Linked DNA regions of Homo sapiens: regions 1, 3, 4 and 5 are each linked to region 2. The links are contacts of gene promoters, found by promoter capture Hi-C in human tissues and cell types (Jung and others, 2019). All regions are on one chromosome and are shown on one strand. Each heading gives the region's core, a stretch centred on a gene start or on the middle of the fragment in contact. The rest is flanking DNA. Distances are from core to core; before and after follow the strand shown.

Region 1 (5,722 bases), core at 409-2,908, 420 kb before region 2:
AAAGGGAGAAGAGTCTCAATTTCAGCAAGTACCTGTCATGAAGGGTATGACCTTAATGATGTACATAAAATAAAACAAATGAAGAAATGGAAAACTTTTAGAAATTAAGGTGTACTTGAAAACGAATATCTATCATATGACCCCTGCACTCCCTCTGTATCATCTCAGGAGGTTTCAGGGGCCTGTTGACATGAAGTTTCGAAGTTTCATGTTGGCTTTGGAATGGTAGCAAAAGCCTTTCCTGGCTGAGATGATGCTTAAAACACACCTCACTTATTGTACATGTTGGAACCAGGACATGAGAGACATAGAAAAACAGAAGTCATGAATGTAAATTGAATGAGAGGCTTAACATGCATGAAAATACAGATGGACCTGCAGGAAAGTGAGCAAACATCGCTGAGTTTGTTTTCTTGTTCGGGAGAATGGGGCCGGGGCTGGCCTGGCCTCCCCTGGATATACTCTATAGTGCACCAAAAGGATAAAGCATCTGTACATGTATTTTTTTATTTTTTATCAGAAGTGCTTAGACAAGAACAGAATAAGCAGGCTGTTTGGATGCTACTTGTGGTTGAATTGTGTTCCCCCAAAATATATGGTGAAGTCTTAACCCCCATCCCCGTGAATGGGACCTTGTTTGGAAATAGGGTCTTTGCAGATATAGTCAAGATGAGGTCACATTGGATTAGGGTGGGCCCCAAATCCAATGACTGGCATCCTTAGGAGAAGAGAGAGTTTTGGTAATAGACACAAATGCAGTGGGAAGAAGACCAGGGGACAAGAGGCAAGTTGGAGTGATGCAGCCGGAAGGGAAGGGACACCAAGGATCTCCGGCCACCAGCAGAAGCCAGCAGAGAGGCATGGGACAGGTTCCCCACAAGCCTTAGAAGGAAGCATGGCCCTGACTTCAGAATTCCAGACTCCAGAACTGGAAGAATAAATGTCTGTTGTTTTAAGCTGCTTAGTTCATGCTGAGTTCATGCTGACTTGTTACTATAGCCCCAGAAAGCTAATACAGTCGTTTATGTAATTACATAACCTGACACACAAGATCGACCCATTCACTGCTGCCCAGTCCACCATTTTCATAATGAAGTAGAAATGGGAGGTAAGAAAAACATTCCAGCCAGTTCTGTTTAGCCCTGGCACACATATTTGTCCCGTCAGGAATCTTATGCCCTCCTGGAACCCCCGCCCACCTCAGTCCAGTCCCAGTCAGGCGAACGGCCTCTGGACAGGGACTGAGGTGGCTCTGAGCCACTGGAGATCATTTTTCTTGGAGGATGGAGATTGGCTAGTACCTCTGGCCTAACTGTGTAGGTCAATACTCTTTTACATTGCCTTCTAATAAAAGCAGAATGATACAGCAGTGTTGTTACAAGCTTGTTGGTTGCGTACAGCACTCATTGACTATAAAATGTAGCCAGAGAAGGGGATGGTTGGCATGTGTGTTCTAATGAGAAAGATGATGGTGATTATTATTTTTAGAGACAGAGTCTTGTTCTGACACCCTGGCTGGCATGCAGTAGTGCGATCACAGCTCACTTCAGCCTCAAGCGATCCTCCTGCCTCAAACCCCCAAAGTGCTAGGATTATAGATGTGAGATACTATGCCAGGTAGAGATAGCTTTTAAACATAGATCATTGTTTAACTCTTTCTTGAAATGTTCCATGTGGTTTATATTGTTAAACTATTGTAAGGATCCATCTCTTGGCTTTTGTTCCTATGATTCAACAGTCATGGCATTATTGAGAAACTTCTCAACTCTTCCTACCATTTTCTGTATAATCTTGGACAGGACAGTTTGTCTCTGAGCCTCAGTTTTTGCTTCTGAACAAAAAAAAATATGATTCAACTGGGTGATCTTTGTTATTTTCATCCAATTCTGAAATTTTAAGGTTCTAGTGCTTCTCACTGGAATGAATGGAAAGTACCCACTTGTCACCACTAATAATTAGGAAGATGTAAGATTCCAGTACTGGCCAGGTGCAGTTGCTCATGCCTGCAATCCCATCAATTTGGGAGGCCAAAGTGGGTGGATCATGAGTTCAGGAGTTCAAGACCAGCCTGGCCAACATGGTGAAACCCCGTCTCTACTCAAAATACAAAAATTAGCCGGGGACGGTGGCATGCACCTGTAATCTCAGCTACTCTGGAGGCTGAAGCAGGAGAATTGCTTGAACCTGGGAGGCGAAAGTTGCAGTGAGCCGAGATCACACCACTGTACTCCAGTCTGGCTACAAAGCAAGACTACGTGCTGGGGGAAAAAAAAATCCAATACCCCCCTGTGCCTACAGTTATCTTGTAGGAAATAATTGTGGCCATATCCAGATATAACTACACAAAGCAACATCCTATTAAAGGAAGATTTAGAAAACAGGAAGTCACCCAACTGAATTCACCCAATATTACACAGGGGAGCAGATGTGGGTTCCGGACTAGTTTATCCTGTTGGTTGCTGATTGATAGAGGAATACACTGTCCAGTGTTGGATGATATGATGGCACGAATGACACTTGAAATTCTTAGGGAAGGAGAATGGTTTACAGATTTCAGAAACTGAATTCAACCGAATGGAATTCAGGAGGCCTGAATGGTCATCCGAGCAGTGCTGTGGTCTCTGTCCTGCCTACATTTACCCTGAGTTACGGTCTGAGGTGAAGATGTCCAAACTCTGACCCTGGTCTCCTCCTCCTGTTGCCTCTGCAAGCCCAGCTCCTTGACCTGCCTGCGCAAGGTTTCTGGGTCTAGGAATGCTGCTTTCATGTTACTGTCCTGGTTCTCAAGCCTAGGGGCTCTGGTCTGCAGACCCTGACTCACTGGGACTGTGGCCAAATACTCCTGCCCATCTAGATTCTTCTCTCCCACAATTCTGGAATCTCCCGCCCACAGTCATGTAAGATTTTCTGGCTGCCACCGTATTGCCAGATGCTCACAGACCTATCAGGTCACTTGCAAGGACCCTGCTTCTGGCCTCCTGCCCTACCCTGCTGCAGTAGGATGCACAAGGAAGGTCGCTTGGCCCTGAGTGTCACCAGCAGTGCTAGTCAGTCTGAAAAAGTGTTTTCTGGCTGGGCACGGTGGCTCATGCCTGTAATCCCAGCATTTTGGGAGGCCAAGGCAAGTGGATCACGAGGTCAGGAGATCGGGACCATCCTGGCCAACATGGTGAAACCCCGTCTCTACTAAAAAAAAAAAAAAAAAAAAAATACAAAAATTAGCTGGGCTTGGTGGCACATGCCTTGTAATTCCAGCTACTCAGGAGGCTGAGGCAGGAGATAGCTTGGGAGTCAGAGGTTGCAGTGAGTCGGAGGTTGCAGTGAGCCGGAGGTTGCAGTGAGCCGAGACCACTGCACTCCAGCCTGGTGACAGAGCAAAAGTCCGTCTAAAAAAAAAAAAGGTGCTTTCTGGCCCAAAGCTTACCCTAAAAATGGAGAAAACACAGGGCAAGTTAGGAAAAAAAGGATCAGAGAAAGAAAAAAGTAGATGGGCAATGGTCAGTCAGGTCACCAAAAATACCTCCGGGACATTTCCACCCAAAATTGCCTATCTGAGCTAATGCTTTGGAATTAAGCATCCTTTGCTAATATGACATGAAATCTGCTTTTAGATTAAAAAAAGAAAAATTCATGGCTTAAAGTTTTGCAACTGCCACCTTTTGTAAAGGCAGTTTTCTTAATGCACTGGAGTTCTAACATGTTTATGGCCCACACATACATATTTTGGGGCTCCTGCTATTTGGTGAGAGAAGACACAAATGCATGGGCTATGCATGGATATGTTTCCATGGGGCCTCTTTGCTTTCATATTTATCCAGAACGTGGTACATGCTTTCCTTTCAGGCTGCAATTCACAGGGTTTGTTTTGTTTTGTTTTAGAACATACGTTTTCAACGACTGTATCTTTAAATAATCTGTTTGAATTTAGCTTTTCTCTTCCTTGGGAATAGCTATAAATGTTGGATTTTTCTTTGCTTTTCATTTGGTATTCTCACCCCCATTGTTTTCATCTCTCCCTTCTTTTCTGTTGTATTTTGGGAGAGCTCTTGCATCTGTCCTTTTCCCATCAGTGATTAAATTTTCAGCAATGTTAATTCTGCACTTCACTGCCTCCAGGTGGATTTTAGTACCACTTTTACATGTCTAGCTACTTCCCATCCTACCTTCTCTCCCTATGCAAAGATCTTTAGGCTTCCCACTGCTTCCCCAGACTGACAATTGTCAGGAAGCTTAAATGATAAAAGTACCCTGTTTTAATTGTGGTAAAAACACATTATTTGATAATCAGGCTGCTCAGTATAGTAGAGAGCAGGCCCAGCAGGTTTGGGGTGCGGTCCTGGGTATACCATAACTAGCTGTGTGGAGTCGTTAAAGAAAAACAGTAACTAAGCCTGTCTGAGCTTCAATTTCATTTCTCAGACAGTCGTTACTAAAGTCACCTGGGTTCTGACGATTAGGAAAGAAATATGTTAAATATCTGGCATAGAGTAAGCGCTCCATGGGCCCAGCATGGTGGCTTATACCTGAAATCCCTGCTCCTTGGGAAGCTGACACAGGAAGACCATTTGAGCCCAGGATTTTGAGACCCGCCTGGCCCACATAGTGAGAACCCACATCTCTACAAAACATACAAAAATTAGCCAGGTGTGGTTGGCATGTGCCTGTAGTCCCAGCTACTCAGGAAGCTGAAGCCACAGGATCACGTGAGCCCAAGAGTTCGAGGCTACAGTGAGCTATGATTGTACCAATGCACTCCAGCCTGGGCGACAGAGTGAGACCCTGTCTTTAGAAAGAAAAAAAAAAGAGAGAAAAGAAAGCCAGCTCTCCATAAATAGTAATTGGGTAATTGCATTTTCCTTTTCCTAGTGAATTATGAGTCCAACAAAGCCAGGATCCTTGCACTCCAGCCTTCCCCTTTGCCAACTCAGTTTATGTGACCACTGGGCTGTTTATCCCCCACCCTTGTTTCCTAGAATTTCTGGGATCAATTTTAAGAAGGAAGGGGAAACTTCTGAAGAGTAAGGTATATAATGACGAACCACACAATACATTCATTTGCCAGTTGACCTGCAGAGAGTCGGCTCACTCTGTGCCGGGTGAGTCCCGGACGGAGGCTGCCATGGATGGCTGGCCCTCACTGAGTCCCTGGGGCGACTGTGGAGGCTGCAGAAGGGTCTTGAAGGAGCACAGCCCTACTTCTCTCCCCACAGCAATGCCTGCCCTTCCCAGCCTGTGACCTTCCCCAAGGCGGCTCTGCCCTGCCCCTCCTCCCCTATGGTTCTGTCCACCTTCTTGCTAGAATAGCAGATATGCCAGACACAGCCGAGGAGACACTCGGGGTGACTACTCCAGAGGGCATGTTCAAAGGATCAGTAATGCACAGTTTGAAAGGCACCTCTGCTGACAGGAAAGAACATATTCTGTGTGTTGGAAAAAACTACCATCAAAACCCCCCAACCAACTGGCACCATCCCCATAGTTTTTGGCAGCAACAGCAAAGCACGGAGCCCTGCCAGGAGAAACAGCTTTGAATTAAAATATAAAGCTAATCAGAATATGGATCACACAAAGCTGCCAGTCATTTGATGTGTGTGGGGAGTAAAACACCCCTGCCCTGCTAAGAAACTGCCCAAGGTCATTGTCTCTTATCAGCAATTCTCACAAACAGTTATCAAGTCTTTTTTTAAAAAAAGCAAGTATTCCCACCTGCTGTCCCCTCCTA
Region 2 (5,228 bases), core at 2,181-4,680:
AAAAAAAGAATACTTATCTGGGCCCATTGTGCTGGCTCATACCTGTAATCCCATCACTTTGGGAGGCCTATGCAGGAGGATTGCTTGAGCTTAGGAGTTCAAGACCAACCTAGGCAATATTATCAGACCCTATTGCTACAAAAAATTAAAAAATTAGCCAAGTGTGGTGGCACACGCCTGTAGTCCCAGCTACTTGGGAGGCTAAGCTGGGAGGATTGCTTGGGCCTGGAAGTTGAAGCTGCAGTGAGCCATGATCGTGCCACTGCACTCCAGCCTGAGTGACAGAGAAAGACACTGTTTAAAAACAACACAACGCAAAACAAAACAAAAACACATATATGACCAGATGTACAGTCTTGAAAGATAAATAGGGCTGTGGTATTCAAACTTGGAGTTTAAGGGCCGGGTGCGGTGGGTCATACCCGTAATGCCAGCAGTTTGGGATGCTGAGGAGGGTGGATGGCTTGAGGCCAGGAGTTTGAGACCAGCCTGGCCAACATGGCGAAAACTTGTCTGTACTAAAAACACAATAATTAGCCGTGTGTGGTGGCTTGTGCCTGTAATCTCAGCTACTCGGTAGGCTGAGGCACAAGAATGACTTGAACCGAGGATGAGGAGGTTGCAGTAAGCTGAGATTGCGCCACAGCACTCCAGCCTGGACGAGAGAGCAAGACTCTGTCTCAAAAAAAAAAAAAAAAATAGTGGATACAGTGGCAGGATAAGAAGGCAAAGACATGAACATATTGAATGTCTGAGCACAGGGTTTAGCATGAGTGGGAGAGGAATAAGCCCAAAGGGTGGCAGATGCACTTAGGGGAAAATGTAGGTGTCAAGGGGATAGAGGCCCATGAAGGTAAAATCAGGGAGAAGGGAAAGGAGGAAATTATTAAAAAGAACCAAGGAGAGAGTTGAGGGCAGGGAAGTTAAGAGGTTATGTGAGGAAACTTGGAGTTTGAAGATTTTGAAGTGGAAGGGGAAAAGCAATGTAGAGTTTAATTCAGATCACTGAACTGAGCTCACGGAAATTGAAGCCGGGTGCTGGATGCAGGGCATTTTATGTGACTTAGAAGTTGTCAAGGGCCGGCGTGGTGGTTCACACCTGTAATCCCAGCACTTTGGAAGGCCGAGGTGGGTGGATCACGAGGTCAGCAGTTCAAGACCAGCGTGATCAACATGGTGAAACCCCGTCTCTACTGAAAATACAAAAAAAAAATTAGCTGGGCATGGTGGCTGGCGCCTGTAATCTCAGCGACTTGGGATGCTGAGGCAGTAGAATCACTCGAAACCGGAAGGCAGAGGTTGCAGTGAGCTGAGATTGTGCCACTGCACTCTAGCCTGGACAATAAGAGCAAAACTCGTCTTTAAAAAAAAAAAAAAAAAAGTTGTCATGGAGAAGAACATGAGCTAGGCGCCTCAAGTCTCCAGTGAGTCAAGATCATGGCAAGGAGGCCAAAAGATGTAAACTCACTTGGTGTGTTACCTCCCTTCTGTACTTTGAGATGCCAGCATAACACTGTAGGAGAAATGTTTAGCTGGGGACCATTCAAAATCAAGAAGCTGACTAGAAAATAACCACAAACCTTACGTTGTATTCTGGCAAAAAGTCTAGAGGCCCTCTCAAGGTTGGCATCTAAAATACATACAGAGGCTGGGCGCAATGGCTCATGCCTGTAATCCGAGCACTTTGGGAGGCTGAAGCAGGAGGATCACTTGAGCCCAGGAGTTCAAGAACTGCCTGAGCAACATAGGGAGACTGTGTCTCTACAAAAAAATTTAAAATTAGCCAGATGTGGTGGCACACACCTGTAGTCCCAGCTACTCCACAGGCTGAGACAGGAGGATGGCTTGAGCCTGGGAGGTCAAGGCTGCAGTGATCCATGATCGAGCTGCTGCACTCACTGGCAGTCTGGATTTCAGAGCAAGACTGTGTCTCAAAAACAAACAAACAAACAAAAACAGAATTTCCTTATTTAGCCTCTAAATTTAAAATCTTAATTTACAATTGTTATTCCACAGAACACTAGGCTCAGGAACAAGTGTGGAGTTGTTTTTTTATTTTTGGTAAAGACCAAAACCAGAAAGTTTAATGACCAAATCAGTCATTTTTACCATTTGAAAATTCTTACACTTCATATATTAACATCAATGAAATAATTTTAACAATTCAAGCTAGCAATCTGCTTTTATGCTGTACACTTTATAACATAAAAATTATCCTACTCCGTTTAAATCCAATTTTCTACCATCTTCTATTCTACAAACCCAAAATAACTGTATCACTGAGTAATCCTGGCCCATAAAGTAATCATACAGTTATGCTGTTCTGTGCATAAGTAGGAGATATTAAACAGTGCTTCGAAGCCCAGCACGGTGGCTCATGCCTGTAATTTCAGCACTTTTGGGAGGCGAAGGAGGGCGGATCACCTGGGGTCGGGAGTTCCAGACCAGCCTGGCCAACATGGTGAAACCCCGTCTCTACTAAAAATACAAAAATTGGCCGGGCTAGCGCGTCGTGGTGGACGCCTGTAATCCCAGCCACTCGAGAGGCTGAGGCAAGAGAATCTCTTAGATGGAGAATCTCCTAGATGTTTTTCATCTCTTAGATGGAAAACAAATCTGGAGTTTTGGTGAAAAGGACATTGATTGTGGCTGGAGGAGATAATTATAATAATAGCGTAGTTATCTTTCTGTGGGTTTCACGTCCAGAACATTTAAAACATATAAAACCCTTGCTGGGTCAGGGTTTTAGTCATCTTTGCAGCTCCCACGGACGGCATCCACCAAAGCGCTTTCCAAGTACTTCGTTGCTCAATAAACGTTTGTTGGAGAAACCGGTGCATAAAGGTGAAATAATAAAACGTGGACGGATTTCGGAAAGAGAAGGAACCCCGGAGCTCACGCTTTGCACGATCACCCCCACCAGCCCCAGGAGTTTTCGCGTAAATCGAAGCCCGGGGAGTGAGTCGCAGGCAGCGGCCCCCGGGGAAGGTGTTTCAGGCCGGCCCGGGTGGAGAGTGCTTCCCGCCGCCTCCCCGACCCTCTGCTGTTCCTCTCAAACTTCTTCTCAACCTTCCACGCCGGGGGGACGCCCAGGGACCGCCCATTCCCCGGGACCGCCCGTCTCCCCGCCCCCGCCTCCGCCCCCGCCCCCGACAAACTGAGCAATACCCAGAGAGGATGGAAATGGCGAAGAGGCCTGGCGCCTGCCCGCTCCCGCGCATGCTCCCTGACTTCACCAAGGTCACGCTGCAGCCCGCAGGAATGAAAATCCACTTCTCCGCATTTTCGAGGTGACCTGGAAGCGGTTCAACTGCTCTGGCTTCTCAGAAGAGGAGGGGACCGGGCGGTAACGAGGAGCCAAGGGGAGGAGACTGCTCGCAAAACCCGGAAAAGCTTTCCCGATCCACTCTGCCAGCCTCCGTGCGCCTCCAGACATGCGCAGTAGCCTCCCCCGCGGTGGCGGCGGCGGCGGCGGTGGCTGCCGTGGCGGCTGAGAGTCCAGAGCCGGACGTTCCGGCCGCTTCGGGCTGGCGGCTGGAGAGCGCTCGGGTCATGTCTGCCCAGGGGGACTGCGAGTTCCTGGTGCAGCGAGCCCGGGAGTTGGTGCCGCAAGACCTGTGGGCAGCCAAGGCGTGGCTGATCACGGCCCGCAGCCTCTACCCGGCAGACTTTAACATCCAGGTGAGGTCCCGGCTGTGCATGCGGCCGCTCTGCGTGGAGGTGCGCGCTCCCGTCGCCCGGGCTGCCCTGGCCCAGAGCTGCGCCTGCCTGGGGGCTGCCGCCTCCTGCCCGGCCCCCTGCTTTCTCCCCTCCCACCCCCTCCTCTCTCCCCTCCCATCCTACACCTTGCTCCTACACCTTTCACCCGCCTTGCTCCTACACCTTCCAGGAGCCCTCTCCCCAGCACTTGAGAGACGGCCGATCCCGCTTGAGGTCGGGTGTGCTTAGGTCCCTGGGGCTCAGCGTGCCATCTGGCCTAGACAGCACATGATCGCCACTAGCAAAAGGCCATTCGCTCCTTCATTCATCATAATGGCAGCAGTTTGTTCAGGGCCTGCGACTTTGGAAATATTATCCTACTTAATCCTGGGAGCCTGAGATTGCAGGTGAACCCCAGGGTCACACTCTAAGCCCAATGGCAAGTCTGCCATGTATGTGGCGCTGTGTCACCAGGCGGAGCTTCACTCTCAGGCCCTCCCTTCCTGCAGGAGGGCCAACGAGCGATGCTGGATGAGCTGGGAGCCTTCTGGGCAGGGGTGAGTGACCAGGGTGCCTGATGTGTGTTGCAGTATGAGATGTACACCATCGAGCGGAATGCAGAGCGGACCGCCACCGCCGGGAGGCTGCTGTACGACATGTGAGTGGGACGCTTGACATCACTTTTACTGCACTGAATCTCTCCATGAGGTTTTGTTTCTCTCTGCAGAAGTGGGAGTTGGGGGAAGATCTTCAAGTTCATCTATATCTTCGATACCTAAAGCAAACCTAGTAAGGAGTCCAGGCCTGCCATAAATTGCTGACATGGCTTTTGCAGAAGAGTTTAATTATTATTCTTATGTTTTATCCTTGTTAAAACTTCTGTTTCATAATTTATTCTAGAAATAATATGTGCTCATTACAAAAATTCAAACACTACTTGTTATAGAGAACAAAAAGTGAAAGTGCATCCTAAACTGAACCAGAGTTAAGTTTTGTAGGCAGTATATCTATACATGTATGCATAATACATAAATAAGGTTTTGGGGGGAAGGGGTTACAAAAGTGAGAAGACCATACTACCTTTGCCCTGCAGCATGTTTCCTTTACTCACTCTCATGGACCCCTTCCCATATCAGTATGTAGAGATCCACTTCATTCCTTTTCATGCCTGTGTAGTATTTCGTAGACACTCTCTTCTTGGTAGACATTTAAATAGATAGTTTTAAATTATTTGAAATTATATTCAGTGTGTCAACAATTTTGTAGTCATATTTTGGTGTTTTTCTGTGGAATAGATTCTAAGACATTTTCATAGTCAAAGTTTATGCGCATTTGAAAATTTGATACGCTATGAAATTACTCTCCAAAATGTGCGATCCCAGTCTACATTACCACCAATGGTGTATAAAGAGTGTGTTTTCCCATACCCTTCCCAACACTGGATATTATTAGTCTCTTTTTAGTTCTTGTCACTGTGATAGGAGAAAATGGTATCTTGCTATTTTAAAAAAAAATTTGTACTACTCATA
Region 3 (5,069 bases), core at 228-2,727, 400 kb before region 2:
AAGACTCATTTAAGAACACAGTCAAAGGCCATCTCCTTCCAGATGTATTTGCACTTATTCACAATTTCCTGTAAGTCTTTTCTAGGTGTTTTCATAGAAAACACATTGTGTCTTCAAGGGAATCATGCTGGACAAGGAGTCATCCAGGTTCTGCCATTTCCAGGAACCTATCATCTAAAACTAAATGCCCTCGTTGCCCCCATGAAGCGCTTTGAGGGCAAAGGATGTATCCCCTGTTGCCCAGCATCCTCAGCCCAGGTGCGGTCACATAGTGTGGCACTCGAGTTCTCACCCCTGCCACTTAGCCGCTACAGGCATCTGGCCCTCAATTCCTCATCTGTGAAATGAGAATAATAGCACCTCTTCCCCTTATTGAGTATTACGTGAGATAACGTGGGCACCGGACTGGCTTCTGGAAAGGCTCCATAAAGGGCCTCTGTTCACATTAATTTTGGTATTCAGCGGGTGTATGTTTCCTGAATAAATAGAAACAGAATGCAAGGATGCATAGGATGTGCCATGCTCATTTGGCAATTTACAAAAAGGTTTCAACTGAACTGCAATAGTAAAATACTTTCTGAAGGGAGGTAGAGAGGTCAAGGGTGTGACCAGAGAGAGGGCAAGGACAGAAGCCAGCATGCTATGCACACACTGAACAGTATCACAAAGTCATCAGATTTAACTGACGGGTAAGACCACATGGCAGACTAAGATGTGCATGTCGGATGCCGTGGGCATTAGAAATGATAAGGAGGTGGCCTTGAGGAGCAGAGACAGCCAGGGAGACTGAGCAGGTGTGCTCACCTGGCAACAAGGCTGGCTTGGGTGACTATGGAGCTGGTACCATGTGCCAGGTTCTGGGGTTTACAGATATTTTCTCTGCATCCATTTGAGAGTTGGTCTGTGGAAGACAATGAATCCCAACAAGGGCTCAGGGCTTGCAGTGCTGTGCTGGAGCCAGCTTGCACCAGCTCACAAGGATTGGACAAATCTCTTCCCAACCTTGTGTTCAGTGACGTCATGCTGGTAGCCTGAAATAGGCCACGGTGGGAGTATTTACACCATGGAAATTGGCAAATGCTATAAATCAGGTCTTTCTCCTGCACCCCCTCTTCAGAGAGCAGGTTGTTAAATATTTACCAGCACATCTCTGGCTCTGTGCCCAAAGATTGCTTAAAAAACTGAATGAATCTGTGATTTAGAAACCTATCTCTGGCAGAGGGTGAACAAAAAACCGGAGTCTAGGGGAGGGAAGGAGGCTTAAGATAGAAGTGGTAGGAGGCTCCTGCAGTGACCTAAACAGGAACTGGCAAAGCTTGAACCAGGAATGTGAAACGTCTAAAGTTAATGTTTGTTTAAATTATAGTCATTCCTTTCTCAGCGAACTGTTTCTACACATGAAAGCACCAGCAAGTTTTATCTCATGGTTTAAACTAAAAAAATTTAAATGTTAGTATAAAATCCCATAGTTTCACTTAATATGAATTACTGCTGGTCTATACATACAAGGAAAAAACAGTAGTCAAAACACACACATACACACACACACACACACACACTATCATAAATGTGGTTTCTTGCTTTTGTCTGCAGGCAAAACACTATCAAATGACAGTGGCAACAGTCACAAGAAGGAATAACATACATTGACTAATGTGATCCTATTTCAAAGGCTGCTAGTAAAGATTGTCTTTTGTTTGCAAAACTAACTTTCATTAGAGCAGCATTCTGGATCTCTGTTCTCCCTTCACCTTTGATACTGATGTATTCCAAGAAGGCTATCAAGGATGTAGTAATTAATATATAGGTACCATCTCTTTCAAGACTGAGTCAGAACGTACCCTTAGTAGGAAGTCATTACTAACTGATCCATCTCCAACCATTACTTTTAATTTTACATCTTCTCCCCACCTAAATAATCCATCTCCATTCTATTACTTTCTATAGTTTCAAGTTCTCCTTTGGAATTTTTGTCAAGACTTTTCCTTCATACGTCAGTTCTCATCTAGATCCTAAGCAAATCTCTTGCCTCTGTACTGATAGAAGGAAATCTCTTGCCCTGAGCTCTGCCACTAGCTAGCTGTACAATCCTGAACAAGCCAGTTCACCTCTATAAAAAGAAGAAAGTGAGGAAACACTCTCACAAATTACTACCAAGTAATGAAAGCGTTTCATTTCTTCTGACTTCTCCTCTCGCACCTAGGCCAGTCCCCCGTAGGCAGCGAGCACTCAAGAACTGGTTTGTCCAGTAAAAAACATAAGCATACTCTTCTTTTGGGAAGGGGGAGTCCTTCATCTCAAGGAGAAGAATTGCTGTTTCACCAAACTAAATAGTCATAAATACTGAACTCTAAAATATCAGACTTCTGTGGTCTAGGAAAGGTCAAAATTGCATTTGGAAGTAAATGTCAGAGGCTGCAGGATAATTCACAGCCTGTGGCAACAATGGACACAGGGAATCTGAGTGGTTTCTGCTTTCACCACTAATTCTGAGGATGTGAGAAACTTGCCTAACTGCACTGTGCCTCTGATTCCCTTCGCAACTCCTACCCTGCAGGAATAATAATACAAAGAAAAATCTTTTGGATTGTAAAACGAAAACAATTCCTTGCAAGCAAATAAGGTCTTTATGAATTTGAAATGGAAATGTTAATCACATTCTATGTCAAATGCAAAACAACACATTACTTAAACCCAAAGGAACTTTAACTTTGATTGGCAGAAAGAAAATAAATCCTATATCCTGTTTCCCTTTCAATCCAATTAGAAGCTTAGAACTCTGGGAAAGGAAGCGAGAAGTTTCTCTGTCAATGAGGGTGATACGTGCTGCTTAACGACACAACTGTAAGCATAAGCAATTGTAACACAATGGTATTTGTGTATCTGAACATAGAAAAGGTACAGGAAAAATCTGATGTAAAAGATTTAAAAACATTTTCTTGTAAGTGTAACTCATGTGCTGCCTAACAACATTTCCGTCAACAACAGGCTGCATATGAGATGGTGATCACCCAGGAAGGCAAGGTTAACTTATTATTAAAGAAATGAAAACTTTTTTTTTTTTTTTTTTTTTCTGAGACAGAGTCTTGCTCTGTTGCCCAGGCTGGAGTGCAGTGGCACGATCTCGGCTCACTGCAACCTCTGCCTCCCGGGTTTAAGTGATTCTCCTGCCTCAGCCTGTGGAGTAGTTGGGATTACAGGCGCATACCACCATGCCCAGCTAATTTTTGAATTTTTAGTAGAGATGGGGTTTCATCATGTTAGCCAGGCTGGTCTCGAACTCCTGACCTCATGATTCACCTGCTTCGGCCTCCCAAAGTGCTGGGATTACAGGTGTGGGCCACCACACCCGGCCAAGGAAAACTTTTAAAAAATAAGTTTAGTGTCACCTAAGTCTACAGTGGTTATAAAGTCCACAGTAGTGGACAGTAATGTCACAGGCCTTCACATTCACTCACCATCCACTCATTTACTCACCCAGAGCAAATTCTAGTCCTGTATTACAAGCTCCACTCATGGGAACCATTTTTAAAATCTTTTATACCATATTTTTCCTGTGCCATTTCTATGTTTAGATACTGAATACCATCGTGCTTCAATTGCCTGTAGTATTCAGGACAGTCACATGCTGTACAGGTTTGTAACCTAGGAGCAACAGCCTGTACCATACAGCCTACGTGTGTAGTTGGCTATGTTATGTAGGATTGCATAAGTGCGCTGTATGATGTTTGCACAATGATGAAATTGCCTGACGATACATGACATCTCTCTATTGTTAAGTAACACATGACTATAGATGAAAACTCACTTTTTTTTTTTCTTTGAGACAGGGTCTCACTCCATCACCCAGGATGGAGTGCAGTGGTGCGATCTCAGCTCACTACAGCCTCTGCCTCCCAGGCTCAAGCGATTTTCAACCTGCCTAGTAGCTGGGACTGTAGGTGTGTGCCACTATGCACGCCTAATTTTTTATTTTTTAGTAGAGATGGGTTTTGACACATTGGCTAGGCTGGTCTCAAACTCCTGGCCTCAAGTGATCTGCCCATCTCGGCCTCCCAAAGTGCTGGCATTAAAGACATGAGCCACCAAACCCAGCTGAAAACTGATTCTTAAGACGTGAAAAACTCTTACTGTTTTTATGTATAAAGCACAGATACAGATACACTACAAAAACAGATACACAGTATATCTGTGGTATTGCAATTCCACTAGGGGAAAAGAGAACTGTATTATTAGTAAACCTGGTGCACCCCAAAATGAAGCCATGCTAGGATATAAGACATGACATTGTCCAACCTGAGGGCCCCAAAGTTGAAACTTTCTGGAAAATATCATAATATCAGTTGCCAGAGGTTAACTTGGGGAGAGAGGATGAAAGGCACAGGATGGGGCTGGAAACAACAGGTTTTGCTATTTCTAGAAGCTTACACACAAAGTCAATCCTCAAACGCATCCAGAACATGGGTTTTGGATGGAAATCAGTTTACTCTCCCATTGTACGGAAGCATCAGAGGCCTGGTGCTATCGTGTCTTCAGGTTCCCACAGCAGATGTCCTTCCTCCACCCTAAGGGGTCCTCAGTGGGAAGAAGCATGGATTTTCTTTAGCAAGAGGCAGAGCTACCCACAGCAAAGAAGAACAGACGTCCCTCAGATGGGAAGGCCACCATGAGATACAGCCTGGGCCAGAACACAGCTTCAGACAAACCTGGCTCATCTCCCCGCAGGAAAAAATCACAGCCCAACTTGAGGTGGGAGAAGGGCCTTTTCCCTCTCTGCCAATGCTGTCAACAATACCGGGAAATTCCATCCATGGGGGCCATGCCCAGAAGACACAGAGATCCTCTTCTGGCTTGCCTTTCCTCCTGCTGCTTGCATTGCTTCTCTGCAAAGTGGACTAACTGCCTGTGACAACAGAGACATCTCACCCTACAGGGACCCTTGGGGGCTGTGTGCATCCACTATCCATCACCTGTGCAGCCAGGATCTTAGCAGAGAAGTCCTTCCAATATTCCTTTGAGAGCCACCTTGCCAGTGACACCTTTAATGCTAACGTCTACCCAAACACTGT
Region 4 (5,331 bases), core at 965-3,464, 320 kb after region 2:
TGTCATCTAGTCATTTGATTCCCTCCCAACCTTGAGGACCCACTTTCTGGGACCCCAGTTGTCTATAAAGACCTCCCTGCCCCCTCACTCTGATCATCACTCTCTGTAATCCCTCTAGGGTTTGCCTGTCCCCACCATATACTGTGCGTCTCCTGCACTGCCTGCCTAGGTCCTCCCAGCCTCTGGAGGATGGGCTGGCCGTGCCTTGTCTACGCCTCCCATCTAAACTGGGCTTAATAGCTTGGCTGTAAATATCTATGGTCCATTTGATTGATGGATTCGAGCTACAACTATAGTAGCCTTTGTAGGAGAAAGAAGCATCACAGGCAGAGCCTAAGACCCACAGCAGACACTGATGTTCTCTGTTCTATCATCTCAGGCTCCATTTGAATTCTACACCAGGATAAGCAGAAAACCAGCAAAATAGTTGTCTTGCCACTCACTCCATGGGTACAGTGACCTGCAGACTAGCATTCATAACTGGCATATTGTCTGGTTTTTACAATTACGAGCACACACTTCCCCTCCTCTGATCCTTGCAGCAACCCTGGGGAAGGAAGGGTAAATATAGTTCCCAAGTCTTACTACCCTCCGTGAAATAAGATTCAGAGAGGAGAAGACGTCTTCCTAGAGCCTCCTAGGGCAGGCAAAATCCAAACTAGGTCTTTGATTTTGAAGCAAGACCTCCATCCAGTATGACATGGTTATTTTAGAAAATGAACATGCCAGAACTAATTATTTTTCAGGTGTTTAATACCCACGACGTGTGCCCAGTGCTCTTAATGCCTAATCTCTGACCCTCACGTCTTTCAATGGTCTTCCATGCCCAACATTAAACCTCATTTCAGGTCTGATCAACGATGAAAAGTTAGGTTGTGTAATGGAATGAAAGTGATGTTAAGGAATTGAATCAAGTGTAGGATAACATTTCACATAGGATTTACAGGACGTAATTGTATTTCATCAACAGAGCTACTCAAGTCATTCATTTGAACACAGAATTTTCTCTTTTTCGTTTTTTTTTTTTTTTTTTTTTTTTTTTTTGAGATGGAGTCTCGCTCTGTCGCCCAGGCTGGAGTGCAGTGGCGCGATCTCAGCTCACTGTAAGCTCCGCCTCCTGGGTTCACGCCATTCTCCTGCCTCAGCCTCCCGAGTAGCTGGGACTACAGGCGCCCGCCACCACACCCAGCTAATTTTTTGTATTTTTTTTTAGCACAGACGGGGTTTCACCGTGTTAGCCAGGATAGTCTCCATCTCCTGACCTCGTGATCTGCCCACCTCGGCCTCCCAAAGTGCTGAGATTACAGGCATGAGCCGCCGCGCCCGGCCCCGAATTTTTTCTTTAATTCAGTCCTATGCCAAGGAAAGCCCTGCTGGTTTCTGACTCTCAAAGAATGTAGAAGGCACGTTCTCCCCTTCTCTGCAGCCTTGCAGTGATGCTATTTGCAATTCTTCTTTTGTTTCTGAAGAGTCAGACAGAGGCCCAAGTCTGGTGCCATCAGGAAACTAAAGCTTTATCTGAAGTGGTGGAAACTTCCCAGGGATCTCCGCAGCCCAAACTCTGTCTCTCTTTCACTACTGAGCACTGATCTGAGGAGTCCCATGAAAAAATATCCATATTCAAAAGTCTTAGAAAACAGGAAGTGAACAGACTTGCCAGTCACAGGTAAGTAAAACATTCCACTGGTCCACCTAAGGAACTCTGGCTGATTCCAGCTTGGTGTTTCTCTCCAAGGCCCTAATAAAAGGTAAAAGCAGGATTTGCAGAATCCTAGAATAGTTGGGCTGGTAAAGACCAACTCCCTGTTTCATAGATGAAGACACTAAACCCATATTAGGGAAATGACAGCTAGCGAGTACTCTCAGTGGGATTCCCTCTCCAAGTTCCAATCAACCAAGATTTTCCAGCTCACATATTGTGGAAAGTTCTGAGGAGGGCAAGAGACGTATGTGGCACAGAAGTACCCTTGAGCCCACAGTCTGGCCTTGGGAGATACCATTCCTACACCCTGAATAGTAAGAATGACACTGGCAGTGGCTATGGCTGTCTGGGTAAGTGACTCTGGCGTGTTTTTTTGGTTTTTGTTTTAGGAGGCAGGGTCTCACTCTATTGGCCAGGTTGGAGTGCAATACTACCATCATAGTTCACTGTAGCCTCTAACTCCTGGGCTTGAGTGATCATCTTGCCTCAGCCTCCTGAGTAGCTAGAAGAAGCACATCATACCACACAGTAAGTGCTTATTATTATTTTTAATTTTTTTTTTCTTTACAGAATCCCATATAGATCTGATTAGTATCAGCCACATGGTAGGCAATGCTTGTTGCACTGAAGTCAGCCATTAGAATGTCGTCACTTTGAGGTAAGTCATTGACACATCCAGTAAGCTACTTTTTAGGATTATTCTTAGGGAAAAAAAACAGAGCCTGAAGAAAACAGAATTTTCACCCACTTATTATGAGAGCTAGGAGAAGTTCAGAGGCAAGACAGAGTGAAAGGAAACTACCTTTGTCTCAGGAAGCCTGGAGTTGGAAAGGAAGACAAGGATGTGGACAAGGGAAAAGCAGGGAAGGGAGAAGGGAATACAGCAAATAAACTGTATGAGTTCCTTTCCACACTGCTGTAAAGACATACCAAAGACTGGGCGATTTATAAAGAGAAGAGGTTTAATTGACTCAGAGTTCTGCATGGCTGGGAAGGCCTCAGGAAACTTACAGTTATGGCATAAGACGAAGGGGAAGCAAGGATCCTCTTCACACAGCGGCAGGAGAGAGAAAAGGGAGCGAAGGAGGAACTTGCCAAACACTTTTATAAAACCATCAGGTCTCATGAGAACTCCTTCAAATCACGAGAACAGCATGGGGGAAACTGCCCTCATGATCCAATCACCTCCCACCAGGTTCCTCCCTCAAAACTTGGGAATTCCAATTCAAGATAAAATTTGGATGGGGACACAGAGCCTAACTATATCATAAACTTTACTTAAAATGTGTAAGCCAAAGCCAGTGTGTGTAAGGCCCTATTACTTTGTTTAATAGAAAGTAAAGTACATCAAGTCTCAAGTCTCAGAATTTGGTCCAGGCCGATCCAATCTACTAGTTCGGTGTCTGAGCAATTTAGTGTGGGCTCTACCGCCCTCTTCTGGAAATACTGGGAATTGGTCTTTACTTGTGGTTTTTCAAGTCAGTCACAAATACTAGAAATCAGAGGCCAATTTCATTTTGAGAGTTGAGACAGAATTTGGTAGGTGGCTCAGGAGGAAGGAGAATCAAGGTGGAAGAAGGTGAAGGTAACATAGCACATTTCTTAAAATATGCAGAAAAGTTTCTACAGCCCAATCAAACATTAGTAATAAAATTCACTGTTGCAAAAAAAAAAAAAAAAAAAAAAAAAAAGCCTTGTGTTAAATTTTGTTCATGAGCAAAAGGTGTTAAAAGATTGATTTGTTAAGGAAAGGCCTCAGACTGTGGAGTCAGACCCACCTGAGTCAAATCTGGGCTCTGCTGCTTGTTGTGTAAGTGTAAGTGACTAAGTGACCTCAAGCTGATTATTTAACCTCGCGGGCTGTTCTCATCTGTAAAATGGGGACCACAATGCCCACCCCAGGGGGATGAAGTGAAACGATGCATTTAAGAGGACCAACATGTCACAGACTCCCCTTCAAGAAATTCAGGTAGAGAAAATTATACAATCCTAATGAGAAAAATGAGGAGAGACCCGAGTAAGGGGAGAAGCATTTATTAAGGTCAGGAATAGGCAAAAGTAATTGATGGGGAGAGAAGTCAGAACAGAGGTTCCCTCTGGAGGTGGTAAGTATTGACAGAGAAGGGATGGAAGGAGGCTTCTGGAGTGCTGAGAGTGCTCTATATTTTGTTCTGAGTGGTAGTTACCCAAACACATAAATTTATCAAGCACACACTTAAAATTTATGCACTTTACATACACAACCTTTAAAAAGAGGGGAGAGGAGGAAGAAGAAGGAGGAGGAGGAAAAGGAGAAGCAGAAAAAAAAAGAAAAAGACTTTTTTTTTTTTGAGATGCTGGAGGTAGTGACACAATCTTGGCTCACTGCAACCTCTGCCCCCTGAGTTCAAGCGATTATCCTGCCTCAGTCTCCTGAGTAGCTGGGACTACAGGCATGCACCACCATGCCCAGCTAATTTTTGTATTTTTAGTGGAGACGGGGTTTCACCATGTTGGCCAGGTCTATCTCCAACTCCTGACCTCAGGTGATCCACCTGCCTCAGCCTCCCAAAGTGCTGGGATTACAGACATGAGCCATCATGCCTGGCCCAAGAAAAAGACTGAAAACAGTGGTGAAGTGGGGGAGATCCTATAACTTGAGTCAGAATAGTTATCTCAGCTTTCTAAAGACGGCCACATCTCTTCTACCTGCTCATTCCACAACCTGTATTGGTTCTGAAAATTATGGGAGGAGACATGAACATGCTGATTATGAAGAATTTCTGCCGCCACAGCTGTGAGCAGATAGAGTGAAGGCGAACTAATCTGTGATTCAACCCAGGTGAAGGCAAAGCCTGTGAGCAGTGAGTGGGTGGATGTGATTTCCAAAAGAAACCCCTTGGCTCAAAGTGGCAGGGGCTGGAGACCAGGATGGACTGAGAGACAGCCAGAGTTGAGTTGAGGGGTGAGTAGGGTTCGCTACCATAATTTCTGGAAAGTGCTTCAGGTGTGGAGCGTCAACAAGAGTGGGAATTCCCACATCAGCTCCCACACCTTTGTATGGCAAGCATACTATGCATGCCACAAGCAGTTCGGCCAGGGCTCCGCCCCAGCTACTCGCTAAGAAGAGTTGTCATGCCAGTTACAGAAAGACAGCCCTTAACTCTAGCCTCTTCTTGCAAGCATGACAAGCACAGGCCCACAGGCCCATAGGCCAAACTCTCTTCTGCAGTGAAGGAGCTCAAAACTGGTTCCTTCCAATGTCCTTATGAGCAAATTAAAACTGTGAGGAATTTCCCCCCCATTTTCCTTTAAATGAGCTGGAAAGATTTGAATAAAGACTCTTGTAAGCTCTGGTAACTACTATATGAAAAGGTTTAAAAGGAAATAACTTGGGGAAGTAAACAATAGCCCGTGAAAGATCGAAATGCTTTTTAGACATTGTTGGAATGAAAATGTTGGGTGAAAACTGATAAGAACATTAGCAAAAGTAAGCTGACTGAATACCAAATTACACACAAGGAGATGCCAATAATAATAGTCAACTTGTGCCACAGAACGCAAGACATAGGAATTGAAGGTGATGTAAGATATGGGGCTGGGGGAAAAAAAAGGCAGATTCATGAGAAAAAAGAAAAAGTGAAAGGAAG
Region 5 (5,623 bases), core at 151-2,650, 450 kb before region 2:
CAAATTGTTCTGGCAATTCGTAGTAGTCTTTTCTGGTTGCATAGAAATTTTGAAAGTTTTTTCTTTTTCTGTGAAAGATATCATTGGTATTTTGATAGGAATTACATTGAATCAGATCTTTTTGGGTAGTACAGCCATTTTGACTATTAATTTTTCTAATCCATGGACATGGGATGTCTATTTTTTTGTTGCCTTTCATTAGTGTTTTATAGTTTTTCTTGTAAAGACATTTCACCTCCTTGGTTAAATTTATTCCTAGTTATTTTATTTTATTTTATTTTGCTATTGTAAATAAAATTGCTTTTTTTTTTTTTTGTTAGTCCATTGTTGATGCATAGAGATGCTACTGATTTTTGTAAGTTTATTTCATATACTACAATTTCCCTGAATTTTATCAGGACTAAGAGTTTTTTGGTGCAGCTTCTAGGGTTTTCTGTATGTAAGATCAGGTCATCTGCAAACAGACAATTTGAGTTCCTCTTTTCCAATTTGGATGTGCTTCATTGCTTTCTCTTGACTCATTCCTGTGCCTAGGACTTTCAGTACTATGTTGAATAAAAGTGATGAAAGTGGACATTCTTGTTTTGTTCCAAGTTTTAAAGGAAAAACTTTCCATTTTTCCTCTTTCAGCATGTAAACTGTGATTTTGTCATATATGACCTGTATTGGGTTGAGGTACATTCCTTCTGTACTTAATGTGTTTAAAGGTTTTATCATGAAGGGATATTGAATTTTAGTAAATGCTTTACCTGTGTCTGTTGAGATGATCTTGTGGTCTTTGTCTTTTATTCTGTTAATGTGATGTGTCATGTTCATTGATTCGTTTATGTTGAACCATCCTTGCGTCCCTGAGATGAATTTCCTTTGAACATGGTGAAGGATGTTTTTGATGTGCTGTTGGATTTGGTTTGCTAGTATTTTGTTGTGGATTTTTGTATCTATGTTCATCATCATCAGGAATATTGGCCTCTAGATTTCTTTTTTTGTTGTGTCTTTGTCTGGTTTTGATATCAAGGTAATGCTGACTTCATAGAATGAGTTAGGAAGAATTCCTCCAACTTCAGTTTTTTGCAGTAGTTTGAGAAGAATTGGTATTAGTATTTCTTTAAATGATTGATAGGATTTGGTAGTGAATCCATCAGGTCCTGGGCTTTTTTTGATAGGACACTTTATTAATGATTCAGTCTCGTTAGTCATTATTGGTCTGTTAAGTTTTCTGTTTTTTCATGAGTGAATTTTGGTAGGTTGTATGTGTCCAGGAATTTATTGATTTACTTCCAAGTTTTCCATTTTGTTGACATACAGTTGTTGATAATAGTCTCTAGTGATCTTTTTATTTCTGTGGTATCAGTTGTGATGTCTCCTTTTTCATCTCTGATTTTATTTATTTGAGTCATCTCTTTTTCTTTGTGTAGCTAAACTTATGTGAGTTTTGTTATTAAAACCACTCTTCATTTCATTCATATTTTGCACAGTTCTGTAGTCTCTATTTTATCTATTTATGCTCTGATCTTTGTTATATTTCCTTCAACTAATGTTGCATCAAGTTCTTGTTTTTCTAGTTCTTGTGGTACAACAATAAAATTACTTATTTGATATCTTTCTACTTTTTTGATATGTGTGTTTATTGGAATAAACATCACTCTTAGAACTGCTTTTGCTGTATCCCATAGGATTTGGTATGTTGTTTTCATTTTCATTCGTCTCAAGAACATTTTTGGTTTCTGAAATTTATTTATTGACCCATTGGTTGTTCAGGTGCATGTTTAATTTCCACATATTTGTTTCTAGTTTTCCTCCTATTACTGATTTCTTGATAAGTTTTAACTTAAAACAATTTAAGAATTGTTTTGTGGCCTAACATATTCCTAGAGAGTATTCTATTTGCTGTTGAGATACTGTGTATTCTGCAGCTGGTTGATTAGAATAGTCTATAATTGTCTGTTAGGTACATTCTAGAGTGTGGTTTAATTGTTGATTTTCTGTCGGTATGATCTGTTCATTGTAGAAAGTGGGGTGTTGAAGTCCTCTACTATTGTTGTATTGCAGTCTTTCTATGTAGGTATATTAATATTTGCTTTCTAAATTTAGGTGCTTCCATGTTAATTGAGTACATATATATTTATAACTGTTCTTGCTGTATTGAACTCTTTATTATTGTATACTGGCCTTCTTTGTCTCTTCTTACAGTTTTCAGCTTCAGGTCTGCTTTATATGATATAAATATAGCTACTCCTGTTGTCTTTTGGTTTCCATTTGCATACAATGTTTTTTCCCCATTCTTTCCCTTCCAGACTATGCATGTCCTTACAGGTGAAGTTAGCCCCTTGCAGGCAATGTATAATTTGGTATTGTTTCATTTTTATTTAGCCACTCTATGCCTTTTAATTGGAGAATTTATCCATTGATATGCAAGGTAATTATTGATATGTAAGGGCTTACTATGGCAATTTTCCTTCTTATTTTCTAGTTATTCTGTAGATCCTTTCTTCTCTTATAGTCTTTGTGGTTAGGCACTTTTCTCTAGTAGTACATTTTGGTTCCTTTTTATCTTTGGTGTATCTGTTATAGATTTTTGCTTTGTGGTTACCATGAGACTTACAAAAACATCCTATAGTTATAACAAGTTATTTTAGAGACTTACAAACTTTGTGAAGGAAAGAAACAAAAAAACTGTACACTTTACCTCCATTCTCTCCTTGCATTTTGTATTTTTGAGTGATGACTTACATTTTTATATTACCTATCTTGTTATTAAAGTTATTTTTGATAGTTCATTTTTTAGTCTTCATATTAAGTTCGTTTTTAGTCTTCATATCTTTATATTAAAGATATAAGTGGTTTACACATCATGATGATAGTATTATAACAAAAATCATGTTAGCATCCAGTTTATGTTTGAAGAACTATTTTTTAGCATTTCTTATAGGCCAAGTCTGGTAGTGGTAAATTCCCTCAGCTTTTGTTTGTGTGGAAAAATCTTTCTCTTTCCTTTTCTGAAGGAATACTTTGCTGTGTGCAGTATTCTGGGTTGCATTTTTTTTTTCCTTCAGTCTCAGCATGTATCATCTCACTTCTTTCTGGCCTATACGGTTTCTTCTGAGAAGTCTGCTGCTGGGTGTATTGGATCTGTCTTACATGTTATTTGCTGCTTTTCTTTAGCTGCTTTTAGGATCCTCTATTTGTCTCTGCACTCTGAGGGTTTGATTATAATATGTCTTGGGGTATTCCTATGTAGGTTGAATCTGACTGGTGACCTTCGATCATCCTATGCTTGGCTATTAATTTTTTTCCAGGTTTGGAAAGTTTTCTGTTATTATTTCTTTGCATAAGCATTTAACCCCTTTGTCTTCCTGAATTCCCTCTTTAATAACTCCAATATTTACTCTTTTGATGTTGTCCCACAGACCCCATAAGCTTTCTTCATGTCATTGTTTTCTTTTTTATCTCTGTGTATTTTCAAATAGCCTGTCTTCTGGCTCACTAATAAGTGTACTGTTGAAACCCTCTATTGCATTTTTCATTTTATTCATTGCATTTTTCGGCTCCAGGATTTGATTTTTTAAAATTACTTCAGTCTTTCTGCTACATTTCCCTGATAAATTTTTGAATTGACTCTGTTCTTTCTTGAAGTTTGTTGAGCTTTCTTAAAACAGCTATTTTGAATTGTTTCAGAGATCACACATCTCTATGACTTTAGGCTTGACCTGTGGTATCTTATTTTGTACACTTGGTGAGGTCATATTGTCCTGAGTCTTCTTGATGCTTGTGTATGTGTGACAATATCTGCACATTTAAGGATTAGGCTTTTATTCCACTCTCCACAGCCTGGCTTTATTTGTGCCTGTCTTTCAGAGGCCCTTCCAGAAATTCTAAAGCAACTTAGAATTCTTAAATTGTTTCCTGAGCCTGTGACCACTGCAGCCATCTCAGCACTAGAGGGCGCTCCAAGTCCAGGCTTGCTGCAGCTCTCCCAAGGGCTCTATGATTTACACAGCTCTCCCTCCCTGATGGACCTGAGGAAGAACTCAAGGAGGGTACAGGGGCTGTGTGGGAAAGCTGGTCAGGGACTCCAGTACAGAAGACTGTTTTAATGACCCAGACAAGTGTGTCTCCTAGTGCATCCCTGCAGGGAATGGATACTTCCTTGGCTTTAGTGGTGGGAGGGGATGGAGCTGATATTGGACCCCATCAGCATCTGTTTTTGGAGAGTGGCTGGAGAGCACATCTCATTGGCTCAGATAGACGCTTGTCTCCCAGCAGGTGCCTCTACAGACAGGATAGTTCACTGACTGCAGTGGTGTTGTTGTGTTTAAATTGAATTCTGCTCAAAATTAGTACGCTGTTGAGTAGGACTTGGAAGTCTGTTTATTACATTGCAAGGTTACTCTTTGTAGTAGAAATTGACTTACATCCTAGAACTTAGGTTCTGCTACTGAATCTATTTCAAAATGATTCTGCTGCCTGTATCTTTGTCTTTTCAAACTTCAAATACTCTTCTTCCTTTTACTTTGTATTTCTTTACTTTTTTTTTTTTTTAGCAGAACTAAATGTCATCAAAGTGTGGAAGAGGATAAAGCAAGTCAGGGAGGTTAGTGGAAAGAGAAGAGAAAATCAAATAATGCAAACATTAGGAAAGAAATCTATCTTATTGCATTTGATTTCTATTGTTTGCAAATACCTGCTTTCCAGGAAAATGTGCTGGGGTAAAAGTGTATTTTGCCTTTTAATGCTTATTTTCTCAGATGTTAATTGGAAGTTAATGGAGCTTATAATTCCTATACAAATGAACTTAAATCTGTGTGTTAACACAGCAGTGGCTCATTTCTATAACTAGCCCTTTAAGACTGGAAGCACAAGTGACAGATTTATATTCCTTCCTCTTCTGCCCTTGAGGAGGTGTATAATGGTAGTGTGTCAGGGCTCCAGCCTCCTGTTAGCTGAGGTCATTGAATTAGATCTGGAAATGTGTATAATTCCCTCTCCCTCCCATTCTCTCTCTCCCCCCACCCCCACACACACATGTGTATATATATATATATGTATATATATTTGCATGTATAAAGCACCTCTGGTGTCTACAGACATGCATGTATATATATGCATGTATATGTATGTGTGTGTGTATATATATATATATATATATGACTTTTGAGGGCATTATTTTCAAATTAGTTAAATCTAACTTGAAAAACTTTTATAAATAACAGAAATCAGGGAGTGGTGAGGACACTGTCCAGCTCTGCCCAAGAGGACATCATCCGGTGGTTTAAAGAGGAGCAGCTACCACTTCGAGCGGGCTACCAGAAAACCTCAGACACCATAGCCCCCTGGTTCCATGGTGAGTGCAGAGATTTCCTCAATGGTGTTTCGTCTTAGGGCGGATGAAGCTGTGCTAATCTACCAGGAAGCCAGAATAAAAGCTTCCATTTATTGGTGCTGCCCAAAAAGAGTCTTTCAGATTATTTCACAAAGCAGTTTTTCAAAGACGCCTCAGTAAGCTGCATTCTCATGACTGTTTAGAAAGCAGTCAGCATTCATGGGCACTGTATGCACTGTGGGGCAGACTTATCACCACAAATAAAATGCATCAGATGGGAGGGCAAAGAGGCATTCCTGGTGA

What was found. The method cuts DNA at HindIII sites, captures the fragments that hold promoters and counts their contacts. A contact is called where the count stands out against the background at its distance.
Region 1: a fragment that was not itself captured here is called in contact with the fragment with the promoter of INTS10 in region 2 in 3 of the 25 tissues and cell types used here (dorsolateral prefrontal cortex, hippocampus and mesenchymal stem cells).
Region 3: a fragment that was not itself captured here is called in contact with the fragment with the promoter of INTS10 in region 2 in 1 of the 25 tissues and cell types used here (spleen).
Region 4: a contact is called between a fragment that was not itself captured here and the fragment with the promoter of INTS10 in region 2, in 1 of the 25 tissues and cell types used here (H1 embryonic stem cells).
Region 5: a contact is called between a fragment that was not itself captured here and the fragment with the promoter of INTS10 in region 2, in 1 of the 25 tissues and cell types used here (heart left ventricle).

The regions. Positions count from the first base shown.
Region 1 is chr8:19,394,850-19,400,571 of GRCh38, forward strand. It overlaps SH2D4A (SH2 domain containing 4A), which reads left to right. Exons shown (of 10, transcript NM_022071.4): 10 at 1-1,369. Among named protein-coding and RNA genes, the nearest start is that of SH2D4A, 84 kb to the left of the region's middle. The HindIII fragment of the contact is 4,332 bases long and covers 1-3,824 here.
Region 2 is chr8:19,813,986-19,819,213 of GRCh38, forward strand. It overlaps INTS10 (integrator complex subunit 10), which reads left to right and starts at 3,431. Exons shown (of 17, transcript NM_018142.4): 1 at 3,431-3,681; 2 at 4,290-4,357. The coding sequence starts at 3,553. RefSeq lists silencers at 3,012-3,151, 3,672-3,801 and enhancers at 3,302-3,381, 3,422-3,481, 3,982-4,071, 4,282-4,371. The HindIII fragment of the contact is 14,804 bases long and covers 1-4,629 here.
Region 3 is chr8:19,413,058-19,418,126 of GRCh38, forward strand. The region is part of intron 7 of CSGALNACT1 (chondroitin sulfate N-acetylgalactosaminyltransferase 1); the gene reads right to left. Among named protein-coding and RNA genes, the nearest start is that of SH2D4A, 100 kb to the left of the region's middle. The HindIII fragment of the contact is 4,237 bases long and covers 1-3,596 here.
Region 4 is chr8:20,130,734-20,136,064 of GRCh38, forward strand. It overlaps LOC105379312 (a long non-coding RNA gene), which reads left to right. Exons shown (of 3, transcript XR_949563.2): 3 at 2,273-2,585. Among named protein-coding and RNA genes, the nearest start is that of SLC18A1, 50 kb to the right of the region's middle. The HindIII fragment of the contact is 4,316 bases long and covers 57-4,372 here.
Region 5 is chr8:19,368,320-19,373,942 of GRCh38, forward strand. SH2D4A (SH2 domain containing 4A) reads left to right here. Exons shown (of 10, transcript NM_022071.4): 8 at 5,211-5,341. Among named protein-coding and RNA genes, the nearest start is that of SH2D4A, 57 kb to the left of the region's middle. RefSeq lists a silencer at 4,177-4,338. The HindIII fragment of the contact is 6,040 bases long and covers 1-4,420 here.